Linked DNA regions of Homo sapiens: all the other regions are linked to region 1. Evidence: promoter capture Hi-C in 16 types of primary human blood cells and fetal thymus (Javierre and others, 2016). All regions are on one chromosome and are shown on one strand. The core of a region is centred on a gene start or on the middle of the fragment in contact, and the rest is flanking DNA. Distances in the headings are between cores, read along the strand shown. Region 1 holds the start of DAG1 (dystroglycan 1). Region 2 holds the start of USP19 (ubiquitin specific peptidase 19). Region 3 holds the start of P4HTM (prolyl 4-hydroxylase, transmembrane). Region 4 holds the start of WDR6 (WD repeat domain 6).

The links. Contacts are between HindIII fragments. The CHiCAGO score rates a contact against its expected background, and 5 or more counts as called.
Region 2: the fragment with the promoter of USP19 here is called in contact with a fragment that was not itself captured in region 1 in 2 of 17 cell types (endothelial precursors and fetal thymus); the score reaches 5.1 in endothelial precursors.
Region 3: a contact is called between the fragment with the promoter of P4HTM here and a fragment that was not itself captured in region 1, in 1 of 17 cell types (fetal thymus). The highest score is 5.8, in fetal thymus.
Region 4: the fragment with the promoter of WDR6 here is called in contact with a fragment that was not itself captured in region 1 in 4 of 17 cell types (fetal thymus, naive CD8 T cells, neutrophils and 1 more); the score reaches 6.3 in fetal thymus.

The regions. Positions count from the first base shown.
Region 1 is chr3:49,469,874-49,472,573 of GRCh38, forward strand. DAG1 (dystroglycan 1) reads left to right here and starts at 394. Exons shown (of 3, transcript NM_004393.6): 1 at 394-560. RefSeq lists a silencer at 73-812. The HindIII fragment of the contact is 729 bases long and covers 1,052-1,780 here.
Region 2 is chr3:49,119,401-49,122,231 of GRCh38, forward strand. USP19 (ubiquitin specific peptidase 19) reads right to left here and starts at 1,423. Exons shown (of 27, transcript NM_001199161.2): 1 at 1,356-1,423. It overlaps LAMB2 (laminin subunit beta 2), which reads right to left. Exons shown (of 32, transcript NM_002292.4): 28 at 2,763-2,831; 29 at 2,544-2,685; 30 at 2,284-2,460; 31 at 2,033-2,192; 32 at 1,714-1,962. The coding sequence ends at 1,826. RefSeq lists enhancers at 722-1,711, 1,712-2,700 and a silencer at 1,284-1,603. The HindIII fragment of the contact is 7,172 bases long and covers 1-2,831 here.
Region 3 is chr3:48,988,703-48,991,700 of GRCh38, forward strand. P4HTM (prolyl 4-hydroxylase, transmembrane) reads left to right here and starts at 1,539. Exons shown (of 9, transcript NM_177939.3): 1 at 1,539-1,908; 2 at 2,131-2,212. The coding sequence starts at 1,555. It overlaps LOC124909376 (a long non-coding RNA gene), which reads right to left and starts at 1,170. Exons shown (of 2, transcript XR_007095903.1): 1 at 846-1,170. RefSeq lists enhancers at 259-822, 823-1,385, 1,133-1,292, 1,950-2,511 and a silencer at 1,403-1,782. The HindIII fragment of the contact is 11,078 bases long and covers 1-2,746 here.
Region 4 is chr3:49,005,508-49,008,649 of GRCh38, forward strand. WDR6 (WD repeat domain 6) reads left to right here and starts at 1,884. Exons shown (of 6, transcript NM_018031.6): 1 at 1,884-2,024. The coding sequence starts at 1,925. P4HTM (prolyl 4-hydroxylase, transmembrane) reads left to right here. Exons shown (of 9, transcript NM_177939.3): 7 at 270-360; 8 at 557-680; 9 at 1,180-1,646. The coding sequence ends at 1,400. RefSeq lists an enhancer at 662-1,650 and silencers at 1,789-1,838, 2,379-2,558. The HindIII fragment of the contact is 5,770 bases long and covers 1,051-3,142 here.

The DNA of each region.
Region 1 (2,700 bases), core at 166-2,665:
CCTTGATTAGTCTTAGAGGCCCAAAGGCCTGAAGTTGGGCGGGGAGCCCCTCCCCCACACTACTGGTTCTGAAGGCTCCGAGTGACCGGGACCGACCGCCGGGGTGTGTCCCGGGACGGACTTCCCTGGCCGTGGGGGCGAGGCTTCCATAATGGGGCGTGACTTTTAGGGCGGGGGAGTGGCTAGCCAATGAGCAGAGAGGTGCTGGCCGGGGCGGGGCTTGCGCGCGGGTGCGGCGCGCTGCGGAGCGGCCGACGCAGGCAGAAGCCGGCGGCGCGCGGACAGCCAGTCGGCGCCGCGCGGAGCTGGCCGCTGGATTGGCTGCAACACTCGCGTGTCAGGCGGTTGCTAGGCTCCGGCCGCGCGCCCCGCCCTTGCGCTCAGCGCCCTCTCACCGCCCGGTACGTGCTCGCGCGAAGGCTGCGGCGCGGCGCTCGCGCCTCTTAGGCTTGGCGGTGGCGGCGGCGGCAGCTTCGCGCCGAATCCCCGGGGAGCGGCGGTGGCGGCGTCCTGGGGCCAGGAGGAGCGAACACCTGCCGCGGTCCTCCCGCCGGCGCTGGGTGAGTGCACCGCCCGCCCTATCCGCTGTGCCTGGCTGCTTGGGCCCCCATCCCTGCTGCCGGCTGAGCCTTCCGCGGAACACCTGCTGCTGCTCGCTGTTCGGCCCGGGGCGGGGACACGGCCGCGGACGTCCTTGTGGGTGAGGAGGCGGTGCCGCCCGGGCGGAGCCGCCCCTTTGCTCTGGGTCCCGCAGGCAAAGGCTCGGAGCGTTCGGCTGCAAGGCCCGGGCCGCGCGCCGCGGCGATGGGCCAGGCCTTAGCTCGGCCCGCGCTCCCGGGAACGTGGAGCCTGCGCCTTGGCCGCGGTCGTGAGCCGCCTGCGGGCCGCCTCCCTGGCTTCCAATAGGGGTTGTGGCCCAGTTGGGCCGGATTCCGACTGTGGGGAGTCGAGCCCCGCTAGAGGCAGGGAAGGGCACCGCTGCCGCCACTGCTCTGTCAGAGCTGCTCAGAGCCTTGGTGGGTTCCGTCATCCTTACTTGAGCTCCTTTGGAAGCTTGTTTACTTACTACCTTTTCACTTTGTATTTGGCAGACCTGGTTCACCTGCGAGTGTATTTGGATAGTGTCTCCACAGAAAATGTCGTCTCGGCTTGGAATCTTTTTGCCATAAATTCTAAGTTAGTTTCCTACAAACTCAACTGGTAACTTAAAATGCATCCTTTAATCTCTATAACTTGAAAAGTTCTTATTTTTGTAAATCGAGTTGCTTCAGAATTAGTTTTAATGGTGACGATGAAGTTTTGACTGGTTGAGGCAAGAGCCTGGGACAGCACCTTCATAGCGCAGAGTCTAACTTAAGATTCTAGCCTGCTGCTTCCCTAAATAAGCGAGTAGAAGTGACTCCTGGCATAGAAGCCAGACTCCGTGAAGGGAAGGTGGTGTTTATAGGACATAATTCCAGATAAAGAGCTGGATGTGCTTTCAGGTGTTTTGCAAAGTCTGGTGTAGATGGGGTATTGCAGTTTTATCAGGTTCTATGCTTAGTTAAGTTCAGAGACATTATTTTGGAATGTTCCTGTTCTAAAAAAGAATTCAACCGTACTACATTTTGGAGGCATAAAAATCCATAGTTTGAGTATGGAGAAGTTTAGTTGAACTTTTGTGGGTTTTTTTTGCTGTGAACTAAGGAAGAAGAGCTCATGGCCTGTGTCCTGTATTTTGGAGAAATCAGATTTCAGTAGGGAGTTGGATCCATCATGTGAAGACCCTATGGGATATAAAAGCTTGTGCTGACATGTGCTTTTGTTAAAAGAGGCACAGTGCAAATCCTCACTGTTCTTAAAAATTGATTTTGCAAAATGCATTTATTCATTTGAACAAATATTTTGATTCACTACCTGCCAAATTCTGTGGTAGATCCTAGGGACCCATGTAAAAGAGTCTGCTTCTGCCCTTAAGGAATTCAGTTTAGGGGGCAGTGGGGACCAGGGAACCCATGATTAATAGTGTCTGCCCGCTAAGCGTGCTCACATAGTAGCCTGAGGAGAGAGGGAATTCCTGAGCTGTGGTTTTCAGGGCCAGCAGGAATTAGTGGGGGACATCAAGGCCTGGACACAGGGAACCACATGTACATGAGCACCTAAAATAGTGCTTGGGAGTCCTCCAGCTTGGCAGGTGCGAGCTCTGGGCCTGCCTTGTGCTCAGGAGTTCCAACTTTGTATGCGGGGTGCAGGAGTCTGGGGAGCCTTTTAATCAGTAGAGTGGTGTGACCCAGACCTGTGTTTAGAAAGATATTGCTGGTGGAGTGGCAGGAAGAGGGAGGGGGTCAGGACCTCTGGCAGTTAAGTCAGCTAACAGAGGAGAGGTGGGGAGGGAGAAGGAGCCATCAGAAAAGAGAGACTGAAAAGGTAGTACAGAGGGGATGTCCTGCCATGATGGGGGAGGAGCTACATTCTGGAATGCATGGGCCAGAAGACCAAGCATAACCAAGGATTTAAATTCCTTGTTGACTACCTGGTATAGTGACCTACAGAGTTGCTTGTGTCTGGTTAGTGTTGAGGATGGTGGGATTTGGAGGGACCACTTAGGGACCACTTAGACTGCCGTCGATGCATAGGAAAGGAGGCCTGGCATTTGATTATTAAAAACTTTATCGCCGGGCATGGTGGCTCCCACCTGTAATCCCAGCAGTTTGGGAGGCC
Region 2 (2,831 bases), core at 173-2,672, 350 kb before region 1:
ACCCCTGGACACTCTCAGGATATTCTGAAGAGGTAATAAATAATGCAAGTAGCAGCAACCACTTCTGGCCAAGCCTCATAGATACCCACCATAACAGTCCCACACAGGTGAAAGCCTCACTGAGGGGGCACCAGGTCAAGGAAGTCATGGCCTGGGACCAGGCTACTCCACCAATCTGGAGAGGAGCCACGGCTCCAGCCCACAGGGCTGGCACTCCGAGCAGGGTGCTCACTTTTCCTTCACTCTCACTGGCTGCTTAGTCACCACTGGAGAAATAGAAGGTGGAGGAGGAAGGCAGGACAGGAGACAAGCCGCAGGAGAACCAGGCTCTGTGGCTGTAAACAGGCTCAACCCAGGTTCTACCATTGCCCAGAAAAAGTCCTGGGGCTAAGGCACTCCACCTGCCTCCTGCCAGCTCCCACCCTTGGCAAGAACCTGCTCCTATGTACTGCTTGGTCCTTCTTCATTTCAAGAGAAAGTCCTCTCCCCAGCTGCTGTCCCAAGCAGAAAGGGACTGAAAAGTGTATCTAGATGTCACGCTACCTCTTCAGCAGCAACCCTGCTCCAGTACTAAGGCAGGATGGGCATCCAGTTTGAGACTGGAACAGAAATTATCACCTTCCTTCCCAGATGCCTTCACTCATGAGCTCTGAGCCACAAGGACCACTACAGTTTCCCACAGACCCACCAGTGGATTCTGGACTGTTTCCTCCTCCAAAATGAAGGTCTTGAAACTAGATACTGAGATGAGGCTGGGGAGGACCACAGATCCAGGACTCCTGGCAGCCTCAAGCCTGGCCTGAACCAGTAGCAGGACAGATAATGACTAGTCTGTGTTCCCCTAAGTGTGTAAAGGAGGAAGGAGGGATGGCAGGATACCCTTCTACAGGTCAGATGTGGTACTGGTGGGCTGGATCTTTAATGACACCTGCCACCGGCGCCTCCTTCTTGCACCCAGGCCCCAGCCGAAGGTCGCGTCCCTCCCCCATGCCCCAGGGACGTCGAGGCGGGTAAGGGGCTGTTTAGAGACCCGAGCCGGCCTGAAATGGCAGCGCGGGGTTACTGACCACAGATCAGCGCCCCGGTCGAGCTGCGACCCAGCTTCAGCCTCTGAACCCCGAGCCCGCCACCACCTCTCCCACGAAGTTGCCCTCGCTGGCCGCCAGTCCTCTCCCAGGTGGGAGGCTGGCCACAGGCATAGCGTAACGGCCCTGCCGGCATCAGTGGGCTGGCACGCTGCGGGGCACTAGGGGTAGGGACTGGCACGGCCCGTGACCTTGAACAGGCCGCCGCGGCCGCGCGTTGCGGCCTCCCCGCTGCGGCCAAGCCAGCGAGTTGCAGCCTGCTCCACTCACCGAGCGAGACCGCCGCAGCCAGCCCTCTTCGGGCCCTGGCAACCCGCTCTCCGTTCCGGTTCCGGCGCAGGTCGGTTCCGGTTCCGGCGCGCCCCTCCCCCGTCCCGGCGCCGCCGCCACCGCCTTAGCGGCTTGTTTTGTTTCGACTTCTAGCTAAGGCCGAGGGAGGCGGAGCGCCAAGCTGGTGACGCACTTCCGGCGGGAATGGGCTCGGAGCGACCCGCAGCTCCGGGGCGGGCCCGAGCGGAAGGAGGCGGTGCTCGGGTGGCTTAGCGGTGCATGGGTTCTGCTGGGGGCAACCTCGAGGTTCCCCTGGAGACTCCCCCGCCCGCCCCAAATCAGAGTCCAGACAACACAGTGGGGGTTCACACTGGTTTATTGGGGGCCCTGCCGGGCCAAGAGCTCTTCAGTGCATAGGCAGACATGCATGTGGGGCAGTGCTAGGAACTGGGGTAGGCCTTGGGCAGGGGTCACTGGCAGGTGTTGTAGATCTGCACCTGCAAGTTGATGGCTTGAAGCACGCTGCGCATCCTGGCCTCCAACCCGTCCAACTGGGCTGCCTTACTCTCCAGTGCCCGCTCATTTTCCTCATAGGTGCCTTCCAATTCTAGGAAGGGCAGGTGTCAGTTTAGGGGGGGTTTCCCGCAGTCTTGTGTCTCTGGTGCCCCATTTCTTACCCTGTAGCCGCTGCAGCTTGTCCTGAGCGGCTTGCAACAGGTCCCGAGCCTCATCCCGCAGTTGTTCTGCCCTTGCCTGTGCAGCCAGCACACCTTGGGCCTTGCGCTCAGCTAGGGCCTTCACCGTCTGGTACTGATCACCCAGAGGACCGCGTAGCAGCTGCAGATGTAGAGGGTTAGGTTAGCGTGGTAGCTCAGTGGAGGCCCATCTTCCACCCCTACCTTCTCCAGCTGGCTCTGCCTCAACCCACCTGCTCAGCCTCCTGGGCACGACCCTGGGCACTGCCTGCCGTTTCTTCTGCTGTAGAGGCTGCCAGACTATTTCCTGCCCGTTTCAATTTCAGAGCCTCCAGGAGAGCATCCAACTGCCGAGCCCTTTCACCTGCAGAGCTCAGTGCCCGCTCTGCACCTGCCATCCTCTCCTGTACCTGCCATGGGTGAGCCAAAGGTTACACAGATCTACGGTTCATGCCCATAACCTTGTCCCACTGATGTCCTAGGAAGACCTCACCTGGTACAGGGTCTGCTCTGTGTCCCGTGTGTCAGCCACTGCCCCCCGGATGGCACCCTGGGCAATACCCTGTGCCCGCTGGGCCTCCTCCAGTGCTGCCTGTACTGTCTCTGCCTTCTGTTTCTCATCCTCAGCCCAGCTCCTGGGGAGAAGGGGGAATCAGAACCTGGAGGTATCAAAACCAGGTGTCAGGGATAGGGGCCAGGGATGGGGTCAGACCTTGCCCGCCGTGCATCCTGCAGTAGCTGCTCGGCACGACGCACATCTCCTACAGTACGTGCCAGGATC
Region 3 (2,998 bases), core at 289-2,788, 480 kb before region 1:
GTGAAACCCTGTCTCTACTAAAAATATAAAAATTAGCCGGGCATTGTGGCGGGCACCTGTAGTCCCAGCTACTTGGGAGGCTGAGACAGGAGAATTGCTTGAACCCGGGAGGCGGAGCTTTCGGTGAGCTGAGATCACACCACTGTACTCCAGCCTGGCGACAGAGCGAGACTCTGTATCAAAAAAAAAAAAAAAATTATAATTAAAAAATTAAAACTAAATAATAATAAATAAAAATACAAAAAAAAAAATTGGCCCGCCATGGTGGCGCATGCCAGCTACTTGGTAGGCTGAGGCAGGAGAATTGCTTGAACCCGGAAGGCAGAGGTTGCAGTGAGCCAAGATCGCGCCACTGCACTCCAGCCTGGGCGACAGAGTGAGACTCCGTCACACACACACAAAAAATCTTAGAAGAAAGAGGTGGGCCTGCCCTTGGAGCCCCTGGCCTGCCTTGACTTGAGGGGACTAGAAAATGCAGACTATGCTTTGCTATGGGGAAGGGAGAGGAGATGGGAGTAGAGGTAGTGGGGGTCTTAACCAGGGTAGGGAGAAACCACCAGTGTGACCTGCCTTAAAAGTGTTGCTCTTGCCTGCAAGTCCACCTCGGGGAGGGGGGTCAGCTTCTGCCCTGAGGGCGTGTAGTAATCTCTTCCTGAGGATAACCAGCTCTAGAAGAGCAGGGATGCCTTGGCACTTGACCACTGGTAGGTATGTCCTCCCCCCACCCCCGTTTTTGGTGATAATCTGTTTAATTTTTCTCTGAGGTAATGGTGTCTCAGTTATGGAAGAGTCCCTTCCCGCCTCTTCACACGTGCCAGCTTTGATGCAAGGAGTGTTCCATATACCTGAGCACTGGTTCATTCCTGCGGGCTGCCATGGGGGGCTCACTTTCCTGATGCCAGGGCTCCTCCAGGATGCCCCCTCTGACGGCCTATGAAACCTTGCACATCAGGCAGCTTCTTCCTAAGGCCTGCCTGACTCCGGCGAGACTTCCCGGGAGATCCGGACCGACCGCGGAACCGAGCTCCAAGAATGCCTGCGAGGAGGCTGTGGGTCCTACCCTATCGCCGCTTACGCAGTCCCAGCCTCCGCGGCGCCCCCAAATGCCGCACTGTTGAGTCATCTCAGCGCTGCCTCCTCCGCGCTGCGCTCCCCACCCCCGCTCCTGGAGCAAGAAGATGCAGACGATACTTTTCCCGGAGGCAAGAGGGCGTCTTCACGCAGGCACCGAGAAGCTCCCACTAGTGTATGCCTTAATGGTGCCGCTCTTGTCCGCGTCTACGCTTGGGACCTTGGCTTCTGACTTGGAGAGTGTACAGCTCTGCCCGACGGCAACCCAGCTTGGGAAGAGAAGCCCCAGCGTGGGCTGGGGCTCAAGGCGCAGGAAGGCCGAGCCCGGCGCGGACGCAGGCGGCTCCGGGCGGGCTCAGCACCCCCAGGCACCGTCTCCTAGTGACCGCGGCGCTCGCGGGCCTGGCGGCCGTTGTCCGGGCGACTGCGCAGCGCGGGCACCCCCGCGGCCCCTCCCCTGGGCGCGCGCGCGACCTGGGTGCCATGGCGGCAGCGGCGGTGACAGGCCAGCGGCCTGAGACCGCGGCGGCCGAGGAGGCCTCGAGGCCGCAGTGGGCGCCGCCAGACCACTGCCAGGCTCAGGCGGCGGCCGGGCTGGGCGACGGCGAGGACGCACCGGTGCGTCCGCTGTGCAAGCCCCGCGGCATCTGCTCGCGCGCCTACTTCCTGGTGCTGATGGTGTTCGTGCACCTGTACCTGGGTAACGTGCTGGCGCTGCTGCTCTTCGTGCACTACAGCAACGGCGACGAAAGCAGCGATCCCGGGCCCCAACACCGTGCCCAGGGCCCCGGGCCCGAGCCCACCTTAGGTCCCCTCACCCGGCTGGAGGGCATCAAGGTGAGGACCTCCCTGCCCCGCCGCGCTCCAGGCCCTGCACGGCTGAGCCCGAGAGGACCGGCGCTCAGCCCGGGTCCCCACGCTGCCCCCGGCGCTGCTCTGCGTCGGTCCCGCGCGCTCCCACTCACTCGCCTGCTGTCGCTCTCCGGGCCGGGGCGACTTGGCCCTTCTTGGGCAGCGCGGTCTGGCGCCCCAGCTGCCCGCTGTGCGCCTTTTCCTTAGGTGGGGCACGAGCGTAAGGTCCAGCTGGTCACCGACAGGGATCACTTCATCCGAACCCTCAGCCTCAAGCCGCTGCTCTTCGGTAAGTCCGCCAGATACTCCTGGGAAGGGCCAGGGGCTGCGGTTTGGTGGCCACCTTGAGGCTCGTTGTGACCACGTGACCTCTATTTTGAAAATGGCTGCTTCAGAGCAGCCCTTCCAGAGGATTACCAAAGTGAAGGACCTTCCCCGTCCTCGAAATAGGGTAACACTCCCTCTTATCCCAACTCCCTGCAGTCCATTCTTCCATCACAGGGCTGGCAGGGTGAGCCTGAGGCTGGTGTCTAAACGTTTCATTGCACCTGTCTTCCGTGCCACCATTAATTCTGTCACCTTCTAGAACTGGGAGGAAGGTGGGAGACTGATAACCAGCTTTCTGCCGACCTCAGGACCTCTGGGGAAAATCCCACTGCCGAAGTGGGCCTTGTGGTCTGATGAGAAGCAGGCCGTCCAAATGTAGATAAACTGGTACCCCCCCAGCCTCCTCCACTGGAGTACCAGTCAGAGGCTCAGCTTTTGCTGCCAGCACTCTGAGATTCTTCTTAAGGTGAAGTCTTTGTTCAGCCATCATGGGCAAAGCTTTCTAGGGTGACTCCAGTTGGAGCCACAACATAGCTCATCGTTTCTGAGCTCTAGTTATGTGCTTGCCTTCATATGATTATTTCATTTAATTCCTGCAACCCCTCTGTGAAGTGGGTGTAGATCCTACTCAGGCCAGTGAGGGGGAAAGTTAGGGACAGAGAGCTGCTGTGGCTTGGCCAGGCTGACACGGTTACTTCAGTGGTGAAGCTAGGATTAGAACCCACATAGCCTGCCTCTAAGGCCTATG
Region 4 (3,142 bases), core at 634-3,133, 460 kb before region 1:
TTCCCTGCCAGGCCCTTGCTCAGGGCCATGGCATTTAACTAAGTGCACCTGTGATCTTGGCCAAAAAACCATTGCAACTCACAGTAAGAGACTGGGTTTCGGGGAAGGAGGGGCTAGGGACATTTTGGCACTGGCCTGCCCTATTGTCTCCCATCCTAGTCTGTCCTGGTCCCTGGCAACAGGAACCTGGGCAGCTTATCCTGCCCACAGGTAAGCCCCTGGGAGCATCCACAACTGGGGACCTGCTCAGTGCCCCCCCTGCCTTACAGCTACATGACAGTGCTGTTTTATTTGAACAACGTCACTGGTGGGGGCGAGACTGTTTTCCCTGTAGCAGATAACAGAACCTACGATGAAATGGTAAGGGTCAACTGGGCTATTACTCTTGTGGGCTGGCAGGGGCTTAGACAAGTGAAGTACACACCTCTCCAGGTCTAAGGATGTGGGCCCAAATTATTCCTTGGGCATATCTGGTTGGTTTCCCTTTGGTCACCCTTGGCTGGCCTGGCCATAGAGTGGGGACAGGTTGAACACCCCACCACCCTGCTGCCCACAGAGTCTGATTCAGGATGACGTGGACCTCCGTGACACACGGAGGCACTGTGACAAGGGAAACCTGCGTGTCAAGCCCCAACAGGGCACAGCAGTCTTCTGGTACAACTACCTGCCTGATGGGCAAGGTGAGGGCCTATGGCCAGGCCTGGGGGGGGTGCCCTGAGTACAGCTTCCCTTTACCCAGCCCCCGTCTGCCACAATGGAGGGCTGTTTCTGGCTGCTTTCCAAATAGTTTTCTGCTCCTGGTGCCTCCCAAAGGCCATCCTTAGTGACTTTAGCAGACTGCCCCAGGACCTGTACTGCTTATTGGGTTATATCCATCCCTATCATTCCCTGATGCCCCAGCCTTCCTACTCCCTGGGGCTTGGGACACATGTCCCTTGCTAACCCAGGATGGGAAGGGATATGGACAGGCCCAACAGCAAGAAAGCTGGTTTCAGAGGGCCAGTAGTGTTGACTATACATTAGTGGGCTGAGATGAGGAGCCTCCAAGGAAGCTTTAGGTCTGGGTGTTTGCTACACAAGGAATGCATAGCTGGACCCACCTTGGTCATGCTCTTGGTGCCTATGAGGCCAAGCTCTGGCCAGCCCAGCCTAGGATCTCACGTCACCCTCCTCTTCTAGGTTGGGTGGGTGACGTAGACGACTACTCGCTGCACGGGGGCTGCCTGGTCACGCGCGGCACCAAGTGGATTGCCAACAACTGGATTAATGTGGACCCCAGCCGAGCGCGGCAAGCGCTGTTCCAACAGGAGATGGCCCGCCTTGCCCGAGAAGGGGGCACCGACTCACAGCCCGAGTGGGCTCTGGACCGGGCCTACCGCGATGCGCGCGTGGAACTCTGAGGGAAGAGTTAGCCCCGGTTCCCAGCCGCGGGTCGCCAGTTGCCCAAGATCAGGGGTCCGGCTGTCCTTCTGTCCTGCTGCAGACTAAAGGTCTGGCCAATGTCTTGCCCCACCCCGCCAGCCGCGATACGGCGCAGTTCCTATATTCATGTTATTTATTGTGTACTGACTCCATCTGCCCCGTCAAATAAAAAACCACAAGGTTCGAGCCGCCGGGCCCGACAAACTCCGGGTCGGCGAAACAGAGTCCGCGATAGGTGCAGCGGGCTGGCAGCTGGGAGCGCCCCGCAAGCGTCACGTGAGGGGGCGAGGGGCGGGATGCCCCTCCGCGGGCCCCGCCAATGATGAGCTGGATTGCGTGGGACGAAGGGTCGTCATTGGACAACCGCCGCGGGCGCCCTGGTCTCTGCTACCTGTAGCTGAGGGCGCTGTTGATGGGCAGCGCGGCGCGCTGGGAAGGCTCGTTCTCGCGAGAGTTCAGCTCCCTTCTTAGCCGTGGCTGCCTCAGCACCTCGAGGATCGACATGGACGCTCTCGAGGACTACGTTTGGCCGCGGGCAACCTCGGAGCTTATACTCCTCCCAGTGACGGGTCTGGAGTGCGTGGGGGACCGGCTGTTGGCGGGTGAGGCTTGGCTTGAGGCACGCCTGGTGGAAAGGGGGAAAGAAACAGCGCCTCCCAGGGGCGGTGCCACAGGGACAAAAGGGGTGCCCTGAGGAGAAGGACGGGCAGCAGGTTGAGGCCGATCGGAGGTGGGAAGGGAGCCCCGGAGATGGCGGGGACGAGGGCCAACCTGAAGAGGGCGGGGCCCGAGAGACAAAGCTGATGTGGCCGCCGCGGCGCTTCATAAACTTCAGCCCGCGTGGAAAGGGCGGGTGGAACCGCGGGAGGGTGCAGGGGAACGCGGCCGCGCGGAGGCGGAGGCGGAGGCCCGGGAGCTGAGGGTTGAGGGGGTGTGCTCCCTTCTAGGAGATGGGCGGGGGCTTGGCCTCTCCGAAGGAGACGGGGCCGAGCTGGGGGGGGCGGAGGGAGGAGGAGGAGGAGGAGGCGGAGGCGGCCCCGGCCCCTCAGGGGGTGTGGCCTCTTGGGGAAGGCGGGGCCGGGAGAGGGCAAGGGTGTGGCCTCTCGAGGGCGGGATGAGTCTCTTCCCCCTAAGGTGGGGGTGAAGATCCTCTGAGGAGGGTGGCGTCGCGGAAAACGGCGGATAAGACCTTTCCGAGTAGGGGGCGGTGCCCGGGGAAGCAGGGGCTGAGACCCCCTCCTGAGATGGTTGAGGTCCAGGAAATCAGGTGTGGAGGTCCCTCCAAGGAGAACCGGGTCGCAAAGGACAGGCGAGGCCTGGGACCTGAGGTGTCAGAGTCCAGGCTGGTCTCGAACAGTCATTACATGAAGCCACTAATGACCCATGTTGGTGCTGCTGAGTTGTATAAGGGTCCTGAGGCAGGGCCTTGGCGGTCAGGCCTTGAGTGAGTTGCCACCAGTCCTAAGAGGGTGTGTGTATGGGGTGGGGATGATCCAGTTTTGATCTGGTGTGGGGGTTCTTGGAGCGCGGAGTTCCTACCGCGAGCTAAACTCCTAAGGCTCCTTGAGGGGGAACAACGAAGCAGAAACTCAAAGAACCACAAGAGTGAACTAGGAAAAGGGGTGAGTTCCTGGCAAGAGGGTAAGCATGCCAAAGGCCTTGAGGCTGGAAGAATCTGTCATTTTGGGGGAAGGAGGGAATTCTTGTGAAGTTAGAGCAG